Linked DNA regions of Homo sapiens: regions 2, 3 and 4 are each linked to region 1. Evidence: promoter capture Hi-C in 16 types of primary human blood cells and fetal thymus (Javierre and others, 2016). All regions are on one chromosome and are shown on one strand. Each heading gives the region's core, a stretch centred on a gene start or on the middle of the fragment in contact. The rest is flanking DNA. Distances are from core to core; before and after follow the strand shown.

The links. Contacts are between HindIII fragments. The CHiCAGO score rates a contact against its expected background, and 5 or more counts as called.
Region 2: a contact is called between a fragment that was not itself captured here and the fragment with the promoter of ATP6V0E1 in region 1, in 1 of 17 cell types (naive CD8 T cells). The highest score is 5.0, in naive CD8 T cells.
Region 3: a contact is called between a fragment that was not itself captured here and the fragment with the promoter of ATP6V0E1 in region 1, in 5 of 17 cell types (naive CD8 T cells, naive CD4 T cells, non-activated CD4 T cells and 2 more). The highest score is 7.2, in naive CD8 T cells.
Region 4: a fragment that was not itself captured here is called in contact with the fragment with the promoter of ATP6V0E1 in region 1 in 1 of 17 cell types (naive CD4 T cells); the score reaches 5.2 in naive CD4 T cells.

The regions. Positions count from the first base shown.
Region 1 is chr5:172,982,470-172,985,588 of GRCh38, reverse strand. ATP6V0E1 (ATPase H+ transporting V0 subunit e1) reads right to left here and starts at 1,818. Exons shown (of 4, transcript NM_003945.4): 1 at 1,625-1,818. The coding sequence starts at 1,728. RefSeq lists a silencer at 1,764-1,943 and an enhancer at 1,709-2,003. The HindIII fragment of the contact is 8,334 bases long and covers 1-3,119 here.
Region 2 is chr5:173,077,902-173,081,023 of GRCh38, reverse strand. CREBRF (CREB3 regulatory factor) reads right to left here. Exons shown (of 9, transcript NM_153607.3): 2 at 240-439. The coding sequence starts at 248. Among named protein-coding and RNA genes, the nearest start is that of CREBRF, 23 kb to the right of the region's middle. The HindIII fragment of the contact is 8,132 bases long and covers 1-3,122 here.
Region 3 is chr5:173,106,524-173,109,543 of GRCh38, reverse strand. It overlaps CREBRF (CREB3 regulatory factor), which reads right to left. Exons shown (of 9, transcript NM_153607.3): 5 at 726-920. Among named protein-coding and RNA genes, the nearest start is that of BNIP1, 36 kb to the left of the region's middle. The HindIII fragment of the contact is 3,294 bases long and covers 1-3,007 here.
Region 4 is chr5:173,058,251-173,061,757 of GRCh38, reverse strand. All of the region lies in intron 1 of CREBRF (CREB3 regulatory factor), which reads right to left. Among named protein-coding and RNA genes, the nearest start is that of CREBRF, 3.7 kb to the right of the region's middle. The HindIII fragment of the contact is 233 bases long and covers 1,590-1,822 here.

The DNA.
Region 1 (3,119 bases), core at 569-3,068:
TGAAGATATAAACACAACAAAGAAGCACTTTGTTGTTCGCTAACTCCAGTAGGAAAAACAAGTCTAATTAACTTTGGTAAATACAATTGCTTTAATAATGCCAGAATTCTGACTCTGTCCATCAACCTCTATAGGTAGGAGAGATGACCCCATATAACTGGTGTTACCAGGGAGGAGGAACTTGATACTTAAAAATGATAAAAATTCATCTACCATGTATCTTTTAAAAAAAAATAATTTTAGACTAATAAAGCAAATGTATCCCAGGGAGCAAAAGGGGTTCAGGTCACAAAATATTAGGGAAGTAGTAAAAATCTTTTTCTTTCTTTTTTTTTTTTTTTTTTGAGACGGAGTCTCGCTCTGTCGCCCAGGCTGGAGTGCAGTGGCGCGATCTCGGCTCACTGCAAGCTCTGCCTCCTGGGTTCACGCCATTCTCCTGCCTCAGCCTCCCGAGTAGCTGGGATTACAGGCGCCCGCCACCACGCCCGGCTAATTTTTTGTGTTTTTAGTAGAGACGGGTTTCACCGTGTTAGCCAGGATGGTCTCGATCTCCTGACCTCGTGATCCGCCCGCCTTGGCCTCCCAAAGTGCTGGGATTACAGGCGTGAGCCACGGCACCTGGCCAAAAATCTTTTTCTTTTAATAAAGACAATAGAACTATTCACTCAACAGGTATTTATTGGGTGCCTCCTGTGCATACAAGGTACTATGAAAACCAGGCACTATGAAGCCACCAATTAGGTTCAAGAATAAAGCAAGAGATGGTGTTTCTGACAAACTGACTTCAGTCGAAGTTTCACCTCTCATCATCTTGAACTGAGAAAAAAATGACTGAGAAGCAAAAGAGGAACCAGGAAGAGGGTGTTCCAAGGCTCCTTTGAAGATTAAGCCTCTATTTTATACTACAGTTAAAAAGTTTAATTCCAAAAGAGACAAAGCTCTAACCAACAAAGAAGTCTGGAAAAACAAAATCTTTCTTAGCCAATCATTCTAAGCACTTCTTACACTCACATACAAGAGCCGGAGCGCCCTCCAAAAGGCATGACGCAGGGGTTTCTCAACAATACCTCCTGCTCTTTGGTAATTAATCTCGCTTTAGATCAGGCCCCAACCGCCTCCTGGCGCCCACTAGATGCAAGGCCTGGGCTCAATGTTGTCGAAGGAGCTTGTTCTGTACGCAACCGCGACAGCATGGGAGGCAGAGAAGCCAATTTCTGTTTTATTTATTTGATCCTTAAGTTCAGGCAAACGAGGCCTCATGTGGGTGGAAGGCAGGGCTAAAGGGGGACAGTCGACTAGGGACAAACCCCAGTTTCTCCCAGATTCGGCCTGCTCATTTCCGACTGCACCTCCCCACACAGGACTATGATGAGAAAAAATTCCCCTGAAACTCGTTTCCAAGGGGGGTCCACCAAAGGTCACCCTCCACTCGCTCAGGCCGGAGGACACTGAAGCTGCTGCGAAAAGGAACACAAGGAGTTCCGCCGGGTCGGGGGCCTGACTCTGCAGCGCGGGGGGCGCCCATGCAACGTTCTCTGACCCGTGTGGGGGTCGTGCCTTTCCCCGCCCCGGCCTGCTAGCTCCTCACCGCCCGTTCCTCCCAAGGCGGGCCTCACGCACTTACCCCCGGTTAGGACCCTTAGGGATGAACCAAGGCACCAAGAAGCCGACGAAGCCCCAGAACACGCTCATCACAATGAGAGGCACAGTGAGGCCGTGATACGCCATGGTCGCCGCCTGAGCGCCAACCCCTACCCCGTCGCCTCACTCGGATCCCACCAGGAAGTGTCAATAGCTGACCGCGTGACCAGCGTGTGCAAGCCCCGCCTCCCGCGCCCCCACGTGACCCGCGCGCCGGCCTCCGCCCCTCGGGGAGCCCAGAGGCAGAGCCCCGCCTTCGCCTGGCTGTCTCCTGGCTGCAGCTCCTTGGAGGCATGTCGCTCACCCCAGAGCTAGGGATTCGGTCACCCGGGGCTCAGCAAAGTGTTCTGATGAGAACTTGGCCCTTTTAGACAAAGAGTGTAGTTATCTACAGCCTCATCTACTTATGCAACAGACATAGAGAACTTAACAATAGTTGTCCCTTACTATTCTGAATTCCCGTGTGCCTGGCACTGGGCCATGATCTTTAAGTTCATGAGCCCCAGGCCGGGTGCGGTGGCTCACGCCTGTAATCCCAGCACTTTGGCAGGCTGAGGCAGGCGGATCACTTGAGGTCAGGAGTTCGAGACCAGCCTGGCCAACATGGTGTAACCCTGTCTCTACTAAAAATACAAAAATTAGCTGGGTGTGGTGGTGCGCGCCTGTGGTCCCAGCTACTCAGGAGGCTGAGGCAGGAGAATCAATTGAACTCGGGAGGTGGAGGTTGCAGTGAGCCGAGATTGCGCCACTGCACTCCAGCCTGGGCAACAGAACAACACTCTGTCTCAAAAGAAAAAAAAAAAAGTGCATGAGCCCGTGTTGAACTCCTCACTTCAGCCTATGAGGTAATTGTAATTATTATCCCCACTTTGCAGTTGAAGAAACTGAGGCCCAGGGAAGAGGATAAGGATCTTGCCCAAAGTCACATAGTAAGTGGCAGGGCCAGGATTCAACCCCTGATTATCTGATTTTCAAGGCCAGAGCTCTTAACTAGCGCACCACTATTTATCTTGTGTGCTGTGCCAGGCTCTGGAGTTACAGAAGTCAATCAGGCACCCCTGAGGGAGTTCACATTCTGGGGAGCAGATGACCTTGCAAACAGGCGACTCAATGCAGTGTGAAAGTAAGTGGACGACCCTGCAAGGCTTTCTACCCAACTCGTCCTTGCTGAGCCTTGAAAGACAAGTAGAAATTAGCCAGAATGGTAAGAAGAAAAACAGGCCAGGCATGGTGGCTCACACCTGTAATCCCAGCACTTTGGGAGGCCGAGGCGGGCAGATCACCTGAGGTCAGTAGTTCAAGACTAGCCTGGGCAACATGGTGAAATCCCATCTCTACTAAAAATACAAAAATTGGCCAGGTATGCACCTGTAGTCCCAGCCACTCAGGAGGCTGAGGAACAAGAACCGCTTGAATCCCTGGGAGGCAGAGGTTATAATGAGCTGAGATCGCACCACTGCACTCCAGCCTTGGCGACA
Region 2 (3,122 bases), core at 34-2,533, 96 kb before region 1:
CACCTTCTACCTATTTATCATACTACCTATGTAGAACTCATTAAACTTCAAGTGATAGCAAAGTAAGAAATAGAAGCCAATGGAAGGAAGAACATGTACTCAAAACTAGCTGAGATCAGAAATGAGATATCACAAAAAGGTAGTATGCAAAGTTGTGTTAAGATTCATTTAAGAGTCAAAGGTATTGACTTTCTGTAGTGGGAAAATAAAAAACTTTGCACCTACTCTGTATGATTTACCTGAGGCATTTCCAAGCCCAGATCCTGTGAATCCGATTCCAAACTTCTTTTTTTTCTTGTTTGTAAATTCCTTTCCAGCTTTACTTTCAATTCCAAGATCGAAGATGATTTCCACAATAAACAGCAGGTTTCCCCAGAGTGCTTCCAATTCAATTGCTTGGATCACTGCTTTTTTTTAAAATAATTCTGTGCGATGCTGTCTGTCAAACAACACAAAGTAACTTCACTGAATTCCAGGAAAAACAAGTTGATGTTTCAAAAAAAAAGTTGACTTTTGAAAAATAATATTAGCAGAGAATACTGTACTTTAAATGAGTAAGTCTTATGGTTGAGTTATCAAGGATTTGGTCATATCTTAATACTTACTATTCTGAAATTTACCATTCCTCCTCTTATATTTTTCTAAAATAGAGCTGGTCAATAACCAATTGGCAACATTAAAAAAAAAAAACACAAAATTAACATAGGCTTATTTTTTCTGTGATCTGAAAGATGTAATATATTGATTTTTAAAGTCAAGCTCTCATTCATTTTATGTTCTTTATGAGAAAACATATCTCAAAATTTAATTCCATCTATTGTATAATCATTACTGCTAAATTAATCTACATTTTATCTCTCTCATAAGTCAACAGAAGAGTAATGAATACATAATAGTCAGCAATGGAACTTAACATATCCTCTACATTAAATAAAATCACATTTGTAATGGTATATGCCAACATTATTCTTTCAGTTATAAGTATAAGCTCTCATTGAAGAAAGAATCATTCCAGCAAGTTTTTAACAGGTGTATGTTTGAGGGAAAACGGGCCTGAGGACTGCTTTGCAGAGTGGTTTCAAGGGTTAAGTAAAACAATGACTACAAATCATCTGGCACAGGATTTTGACAGGGTACAGACTTAAATGTTAGTGTTTTTTCCCTTCTCCATGAAGACTTTAACCAGGAGGAACTAAACAGTTATACTCGCTTCATTTTCCTGTCCAAGATCAGTGGGTCTCAAAGTATGATCCAAGGATCAGCAGTACTACATCAGCAACAACCTAAAAATTTGTTTAAAATGAAGAATCAAAACAGAACCTCTAGGAGTGGGTACCAGCAATGTTTTTTAATACGCCCTCCAGGTGATTGTGGTCCTCTCTAAAGTTTGAGAACCACTGTCCTATCCTTGATCTAATTCAGTCCAGAAGCAGTGTCACTTCTTATATTGGTAAACAGTCAATTTACACTGAATTTGCCTTCTGAAGTCAGCACATTGTCTGGGCTAGAGGGTTACAGTGGTACATTGTATTAATTTCCTTTTTTTTTTTTTTTTTTAAAAAAGACAGAGTCTCACTCTGTCACCCAGGCTGGAATGCAGTGGCCCAATCTTGGCTCACTGCAACCTCAACCTCCTGGGTTCCAGTGATTCTCCTGCCTCAGCCTCCCAAGTAGCTGAGATTACAGGCAAGCAACACCACACCCAGGGACTCAATCATTGTTCTACTTAATTAGATTAATAAACTGACTATAATTCACATTTTCTGGATCTTTGCTGCACTCTCCCCTCCAGTGGGCTGTCGTTCCCAGCTCACTGGTCTAACCTAGGAAACAATGTCAAGTGCCCACCTAGAAACAGTTAACTATGCTTTTCAATTCAGTGCTACAGTATAACTAGATTGCTCCCTGTTCCTGCCAAAGGCCTGTTCTTGTGCAGTCTCTCCTTATGTGACCTCATGCCGTCGTCCTACAACTGGTATGTAGTCATAATCATTGCCCTAATTCTCTCCCCTGATTCCTATGAGAAAGAAGGTCAGTCACTTTTTCTAGACCTATGACTTAGGCCTCCCTAAAGGCATCTAATTCAAGTCATGTGTTCAATAAAGTGGATCAGTATAATCTTGGCATAAAACCTGGATTTGGGAGAAAAGTTTGATACCCTTTAAAATCTGAAAAATTAACCTTACTAGCAATAGGGTCGGCTGGGCGCAGTGGCTCACACCTGTAACCCCAGCACTTTGGGAGGCTAAGGCAGGTGGATCACTTGAGGTCAGGAGTTCAAGACCAGCCTGGCCAACATGGCAAAACTCCATCTCTACTAAAAATACTCACCAGCACTTTGGGAGGCTGAGGCAGGAGAATGGTGTGAACCCGGGAGGCAGAGTTTGCAGTGAGCCGAGATCGCACCACTGCTCTCCAGCCTGGGCCACAGAGCAAGACCCCGTCTCAAAAAAAAAAAAAGAAAAAGAAAAACTTCACATCAAGAAATATATAAACCTCTTTGTAAATGAGAGTATTTTACGAATAATAAATATATATTTATTATACATTAATAATAATAAATACATAAACCTTTTTGTAAATGAGAGTATTTTATGAATAAGGAGATGTTGTATATGATGGCCAGAATCCCTGCAGCTCTTGTTTTATATGGAACTGGCTTAAGCCCCCTTTTAGTAACTTAAGGAAACTGGTTCCTCACAACAGTAAGTAGCTCTTCCGAATCATCTAACATTCATCACAGTAAATGTTAAAACATTTTTGACACACCAATTAAGATGAGTATTATCCAAAAAGTGGAAAATAACAAATATTGGCAAGGATATAGAGAAATCAGAGCCCTTGTGCATTTGCTGGTAGGATTGCAGCTGGTGTGGGAAACGGTTTGGTATTTCTTCAAAAAGCGAAATCCAATTACCATATGATCTAGCAATTCCACTCCTAGGTATATACCTAAAAGAGTTAAAAGCAGGGCCTCAAACAGATATGTCTACACTTATGTTCATGGCAGCATTATGCACAAAAGCCAAAAGGTAAACACAACTCAAGTGTCCACAAACAGATGAATGGATCAACAAAATATGGCAAATACAACAGAATATTATTCAGCCATGAAAATGAAT
Region 3 (3,020 bases), core at 111-2,610, 120 kb before region 1:
TCACAGCTTCCTGAGTTCACAATAAAAAATTTGACCTACCTAAGACTGTCATTTTTAAAATTTTTTTAGAGACAGGATCTCACTCTATCGCCCAGGATGGAGTGCAGTAGCATAATCACAATTCACTGCAGACTCTAACTCCTGGACTCAAGTGATCCTCCCAAAGTGCTAGGATTACAACCATGAGCTGCAGCACACGGCCTGACCTACCTAAGATTATAAACTTCTGATTCCTGCTACAGGTATTCAACTCTTCTCTACAACTCCTTTTCTCCATAACCATCCTCCCTTTCTTTTCTTTCCTTGCCCTTTTATCCCCATTACCGTTTGAATTCCAGTCCCCCCATTTACATCTGGGGATTACACAAGAATGCAAGAGAGCCCGTTCACTTTCTCCTCAACCCTTCTGGTTATACCAACTGTGACAGGTCAGAAACCAGCAGCCTCCTAGTCATTTCCTGAATGGGGTAGGTAGATTAAGAAGGGACTAGAAATGAAATAATGTTTACACAGTCCTTCCTCTCCACTTAGGTGAGGACTCTTAACACTGGTAAAAGCTATTTGTGAGTGACGAAGAGTAGTCACACAAATGTAGCAGCTCTACAGTCCCCATCTCCAGTTTGCTAGGAAGGGCTGAATGCCTAGGTACACGGAGTAAACATTATGGATTAGTAGCTCAACTTGATTAAAGTGACACTAAATATCTGACTGCAATCCCCTCTTACCATGATGTAAGCCATTTTTCTGATACATATTACTTGGCAAAGTATCTCGGTTCCACTCAGATGGTCTCAGCATCCTCTCTTGCTGTGATGGTGTAAGTTGTTCACTATACTCCCAGAAGTATCTTCTTTTACCTCTCTTCCGTGAAGATATTGAAGTCACCTCCTTCAGGTCTTCTACAGAATCATTTTCATAGCCTTAAAAAAAGGTCCCGCAATTTTTAAGCTCCATAAATTTCAATAAATCAATCAGAACAAATGAAAAGACCCCTTCTATTTGTAACTTGGTATATTTCCTTGCATCTGAAAACATCATTGGCATGTCAAAGATAATAAACCAGGTCTATAAGAGAACTTTTAATATGTAAATCTCTAACTCATAAAACATTCCGAGATTAATAAACATAGATAACTACACTGTTCATCTTCCTTGGGTTTCTTTTTAGTTTTTATAAGTTAGTATACGATACTATTTTTATTATCTTCAAACAGGATTAAGAGAACAATTACAGGACAGCTATAGGAATATCAAAAGTACCATCAGATAATGGTACTTAGATACATAAACTATGATTTTTAAATGTCTTCCTTCTAATATTTGTATCTGAAACATCTCAGACAGAAAGCTATGTATACTTCTTTTTTTTTAAATATTTTTCTTTTATTTTAATTTTTAAAAAATTTTTTGTAGGCCAGGCGTGGTGGCTCACACCTGTAATCCCAGCACTTTGGGAGGCTGAGATAGGTAGATCACTTGAGGTCAGGAGTTTGAGACCAACCTGGCCAACATGGCAAAATCGTCTCTACTAAAAAACACAAAAATTAGCCAGGGCGTGGTGGTGCACGCCTGCAATCCCAGCTACTCGGGAGGCACAGACATGAGAATCACTTGAACTCAGGAGGCGGATGTTGCAGTGAGCCGAGATTGTGCCGCAGCACTCCAGCCTGGGCAACAGAATGAGACGCTCACTCTGTCTCCAAAAAAAAAAAAAAAAAAAAAAAAATTTTGTAGAGACAGAGGTCTCACTATGTTGCCAGGCTGGTCTCAAACTCCTGGGTTCACAAGCAGTCCTCTGGCCTCAGCCTCTGAAAGTGCTGGGATTACAGGCATGAGCCACCATGCCTAGCCCAGCTGTATACACTTCTATGATGGTGTTCTACTAGGCAGAATTCTATGTGGCAGCATTAGTTTTCTTCCTACCTGTCACACCACTTCTTTTGGAAAAGTATAAAAGATGACGGTTCTCACACTGGCTATCAGATAAAAAACTTATATGCCTATTCCAGTTAATATTTTATTGAAAGCTATTTGTATTAACGTCACTGTTTAAGAAGGGGGTATTTTCCTAATAGGAAGTTTCAGAAAATACTTAATTCTGAGTTGCTAGAACTGTTGGTCAGACCCAGTATTGAATGACCTATAAATCTAAAATACCCTCAGAGAATGGCCACCTCTGATGTACTCCAGATCATTAACGCTAGGTACATGAACAAGACGGAATGGGCTGTGCGAAGAATGTACACAATCCAAACCTAAGGTAACCAGGAAAACTTGGGCAGCATTGGCCATAAGTAAAAAGGTAATTTTTCCTTCCTGAAAACATAAGAAGGTGATGATATGTTTGCTTTGAGGAACTAAGTTTTCTCCAGACAAAGAATGAATCAGGAGCATGCTTCCATTTATATACTATTCTGGAAAAAGCAACCTATATGGACAGTGGTTGCCAGGGATTGGCAGTGGAGAAAAGGGATGACTATAAAAGAATATAAGGGGCCGGGTGCGGTGGCTCATGCCTGTAATCCCAGGACTTTGGGAGGCCAAGGTGGGCGGATCACCTGAGATCAGGAGTTCGAGACCAGCCTGGCCCACATGGCGAAACCTCATCTCTACTAAAAATACAAAAATTAGCCGGGCATGGTGGTGGGTGCCTGTAATCCCCGCTACTCAGGAAGCTGAGGCAGGAGAATCGCTTGAACCCAGGAGGCAGAGGTTGCAGTGAGCCAAGAGCGTGCCATTGCACCACAGCCTGGACAACAAGAGCAAGACTCCATCTCAATAAAATAAAATAAAATAAAATAAAATAAAATAGAAGAGGGAATTTTCGGGGGTGATCAAACTATTTGGTATTAGTGGTGATTACATGATTTGTCAAAACTCATAGAAGTGTACACTGTAAGAGGGGTGAATTTTACTGTGTGAAAATTATACCACAATAAACATGACTTTAAAAAAAAGAATCAATTTGGAAAGCAGAATGATTTCTGAGCAACAGTTAAGGCAAGCTTTTGTAGCACTGC
Region 4 (3,507 bases), core at 457-2,956, 76 kb before region 1:
TCTTTTTGGGCCTGGAAAAAGCATCCTACTCTCTTTAATTCTTCAAGCATCTCAGGCAATGAGCACTCAATGTCTTAACTTCTAAATTAACTGCATATTTGAATATAAGAACTACATGTGTTGACTATTCACGTGACTATCATCTCTTGAAACAGCTATACAGCTTTGTTAAGGATTATATGCTAAATGTGCTTTGAAACTTCAAGAGGACCATATCCTGAATATATCTTAGGGCCAAAGTTTTTTCAATCAGACTGCATCTCTAAAATCAACAGGATTTATACCAATATTTGCTTTAAACAGCTTTTCAAGAAAACATTTATATGTAAACGAAGGAAAAATACAAAATACAATGTTGCCATATGCTCTTGTACTAAAAATTCTCTTCAAGGCAGGAGACTGTACAATCTGCAAATGCTCAAATGTACCTAAAGTGTCTATTTGTATATTCTGAAATACCTTAACATCTAAGTACTTAAAACTCAGTGACTGGGCCAGATGTGGTGGTTCACGCCTGTAATCCCAGCACGTTGGGAGGCTGAGGCGGGCAGATCAGGAGGTCAGGAGATTGAGACCAGCCTGGCCAACACAGTGAAACCCCGTCTCTACTAAAAATACAAAACTTGGCTGGGCACGGTGGCAGGCGCCTGTAATCCCAGCTACTCAGAAGGCTGAGGCAGGAGAATCGCTTAAACCCGGGAGGCGGAGGTTGCAGTGAGCCGAGATCGTGCCACTGCACTCCAGCAGGGGGGACAGAACTAGACTCTGTCTCAAAAAACGAACAAACAAAAAACCTCAATGACTGATGTCTTACAACAGGGGCTGACAAACTATAGCCGTGGAAGCACAAATAGAGGCACAGCCTGACCTTGTAAATAAAGTTTTATTGGAATAGAGCCCAAAAATATGTAGAACATATTTTCTACAGCTGTTTCCATGCTACAGATTCAAAGTTGAGTAGTTGTGGCAGAGACTGGAAGGCTGAAAAAGCCTAAATATTAACTATTTGATCCTGTTCCAAAAAAAAAAAAAAAGTCTGTCAACCCTTGTCTTAAAATAATCAGAACCAATTATCTGACAAATTTATGTCTCGTCTAAGAGTTTACCTATCCCGAAATGAGCTACTGAATATGGTGAAAGTGTCAGTGAATTGTTCCTCAAAAAAATCCAAGTTCAACCCTACTTGGAAACAAGCGACTGCTAATTCATTTCAAAATCACATAACTAGAGGGGGCACGGTGGCTCATACCTGTAATCCCAGCTCTTTGGGAGGCCAATGCGGGCGGATCATTTAAGATTAGGAGTTCAAGACCAGCCTGGCCAACTTGGTGAAACCTTGTCTCTACTGAAAATACAAAAATTAGCTGAGCATAGCGGTGCACGCCTGTAATCCTAGCTACTCGGGAGGCTGGGGCAGGATAATCGCTTGAACCCAGGAAACGGAGGTTGCAGTGCGCCAGGATCACGCCACCGGACTCCAACCTGGGCAACGCAGTTAGACTCCGTCTCAAAAAAAAAAAAAAACATATATATATATATGTATTTTTTAAATAAATATATAGATGCCGATCTTGACTGAAAATTAAGCTTTAAAAGCAAACAGTGATTTCAGTTCTCTTTATCTTTTAAAAACTGAGTTATATTAACAGAATCAACACACAAACTTACTGTACTTCACTGTCACTTGTATTTAACCACCACCAGGAACCATGCTAGTTATTCCTTTACTTCTTACACTAGTATCCCAGAACCCACACACATCCACCCTGTAAACTAAGTAGACACCCTGTAAACTAAGTAGAACATTGTCTATATAAAAGCTTGCTTTCACCTGCCATGACAGAGAATGATGGTAAATGGAGCATCCAGACTCTCTTCGGGAGCTATTTAGCCTCTTCTATGCTTATGAATATAAAAAACCCAAAGCTGATATACCAGTCATATGAAGGAATTATACCCAAATAAGTTCTATTGCATCTATTTGCCATTCTTAGAATAAGAGAGCATTATATAAGCAATGCTGATTGACTTTATCAACCGATGCAACAGTGAAAACTGCCTGGAATATTCTAAGTATCAATGAAAAGTGTTTATTTTTATTTTCACTATACTTCTCTGTTAAACTAATTAGGGCATTGTAAGGGCTAGGGTTCCAAAAGCAACACAATGCCACCTGATAAAATAAGAATTGATAGGCCAGGCGCGGTGGCTCACGCCTGTAATCCCAGCACTTTGGGAGGCCAAGGCAGGCAGATCACCTTAGGTCAGGAGTTCAAGACCAGTCTGGCCAACATGGTGAAACCCCGTCTCTACTAAAAATACAAAATTAGCCGGGCGTGGTGGTGGGCGCCTGTAATCCCAGCTACTCAGGAGGCTCAGGCAGGAGAATTGCTTGAACCCGGGAGGCGGAGATTGCAGTGAGCCGAGATCTTCCCACTGCACTCCAGCCTGGGCGACAAGGGCGAAACTCCGTCTCAAAAAAAAAAAAAAAAGAAAAAAAAGAAAAAGAAGAACTGATAAATAAGCTAATACCCTTATTTACTGCAAAAGTTATACGTAAGAATTCAAGTTTATCAAATAATCAGGGATTACGTTTTTATGTATCATTATTAACAGAACTGAGTCAGTCATGCCAAAGTACTACAAAAATTGATGAATCAGGCCGGGCGCAGTAGCTCACACCTGTAATCCCAGAACTTTGGAAGCTGAGGTGGGTGGATCACCTAAAGCCAGAAGTTCGAGACCAGCCTGACCAGCACGTGGTGAAACCCCGTCTCTATTAAAAACACAAAAAATTAGCCAGGCATGGTGGCACGCGCCTGTAGTCGCAGCTACTCGGGAGGCTGAGGCAGGAGAATTGCTAGAACCCGGCAGGCGGAGGTTGCAGTGAGCCGAGATCGTGCCATTGCACTCCAGCCTGGGCGACAGACGGAGACTCCGTCTTAAAAAAAAAAAAAAAAAAAAAAAAAAAGAGGCTGGGCGCGGTGGCTCACGCCTGTAATCCCAGCACTTTGGGAGGCCGAGGGGGGCGGATCACGAAGTCAGGAGATCGAGACCGTCCTGGCTAACATGGTGAAACCCCGTCTCTACTAAAAATACAAAAAAAATTAGCCGGGCGTGATGGCGGGCGCCTGTAGTCCCAGCTACTCCGGAGGCTGAGGCAGGAGAATGGCGTGAACCCGGGAGGCGGAGCTTGCAGTGAGTCGAGATCTGGCCACTGCTCTCCAGCCTGGGCGACAGAGCGAGACTCCGTCTCAAATTAAAAAAAAAAAAAAAATTGATGAATCAGTTACCAATTATTCTTTTTCTCCAACTAATAAAATAGAAGATAATGCAAATTCTTAATACAGCTAACTCTGATTAGCCCCTGCATGATCTATCTAAGGCATGTTCTTACGCCTAAGTACTTAACCAAAGATGCCATCAAGAGCTTGGTACCCTTGACAATACCAACGTAGCCACAGGTTGTAATCCGATGTAAACACAAACCTAAATTAAGCATTTAAC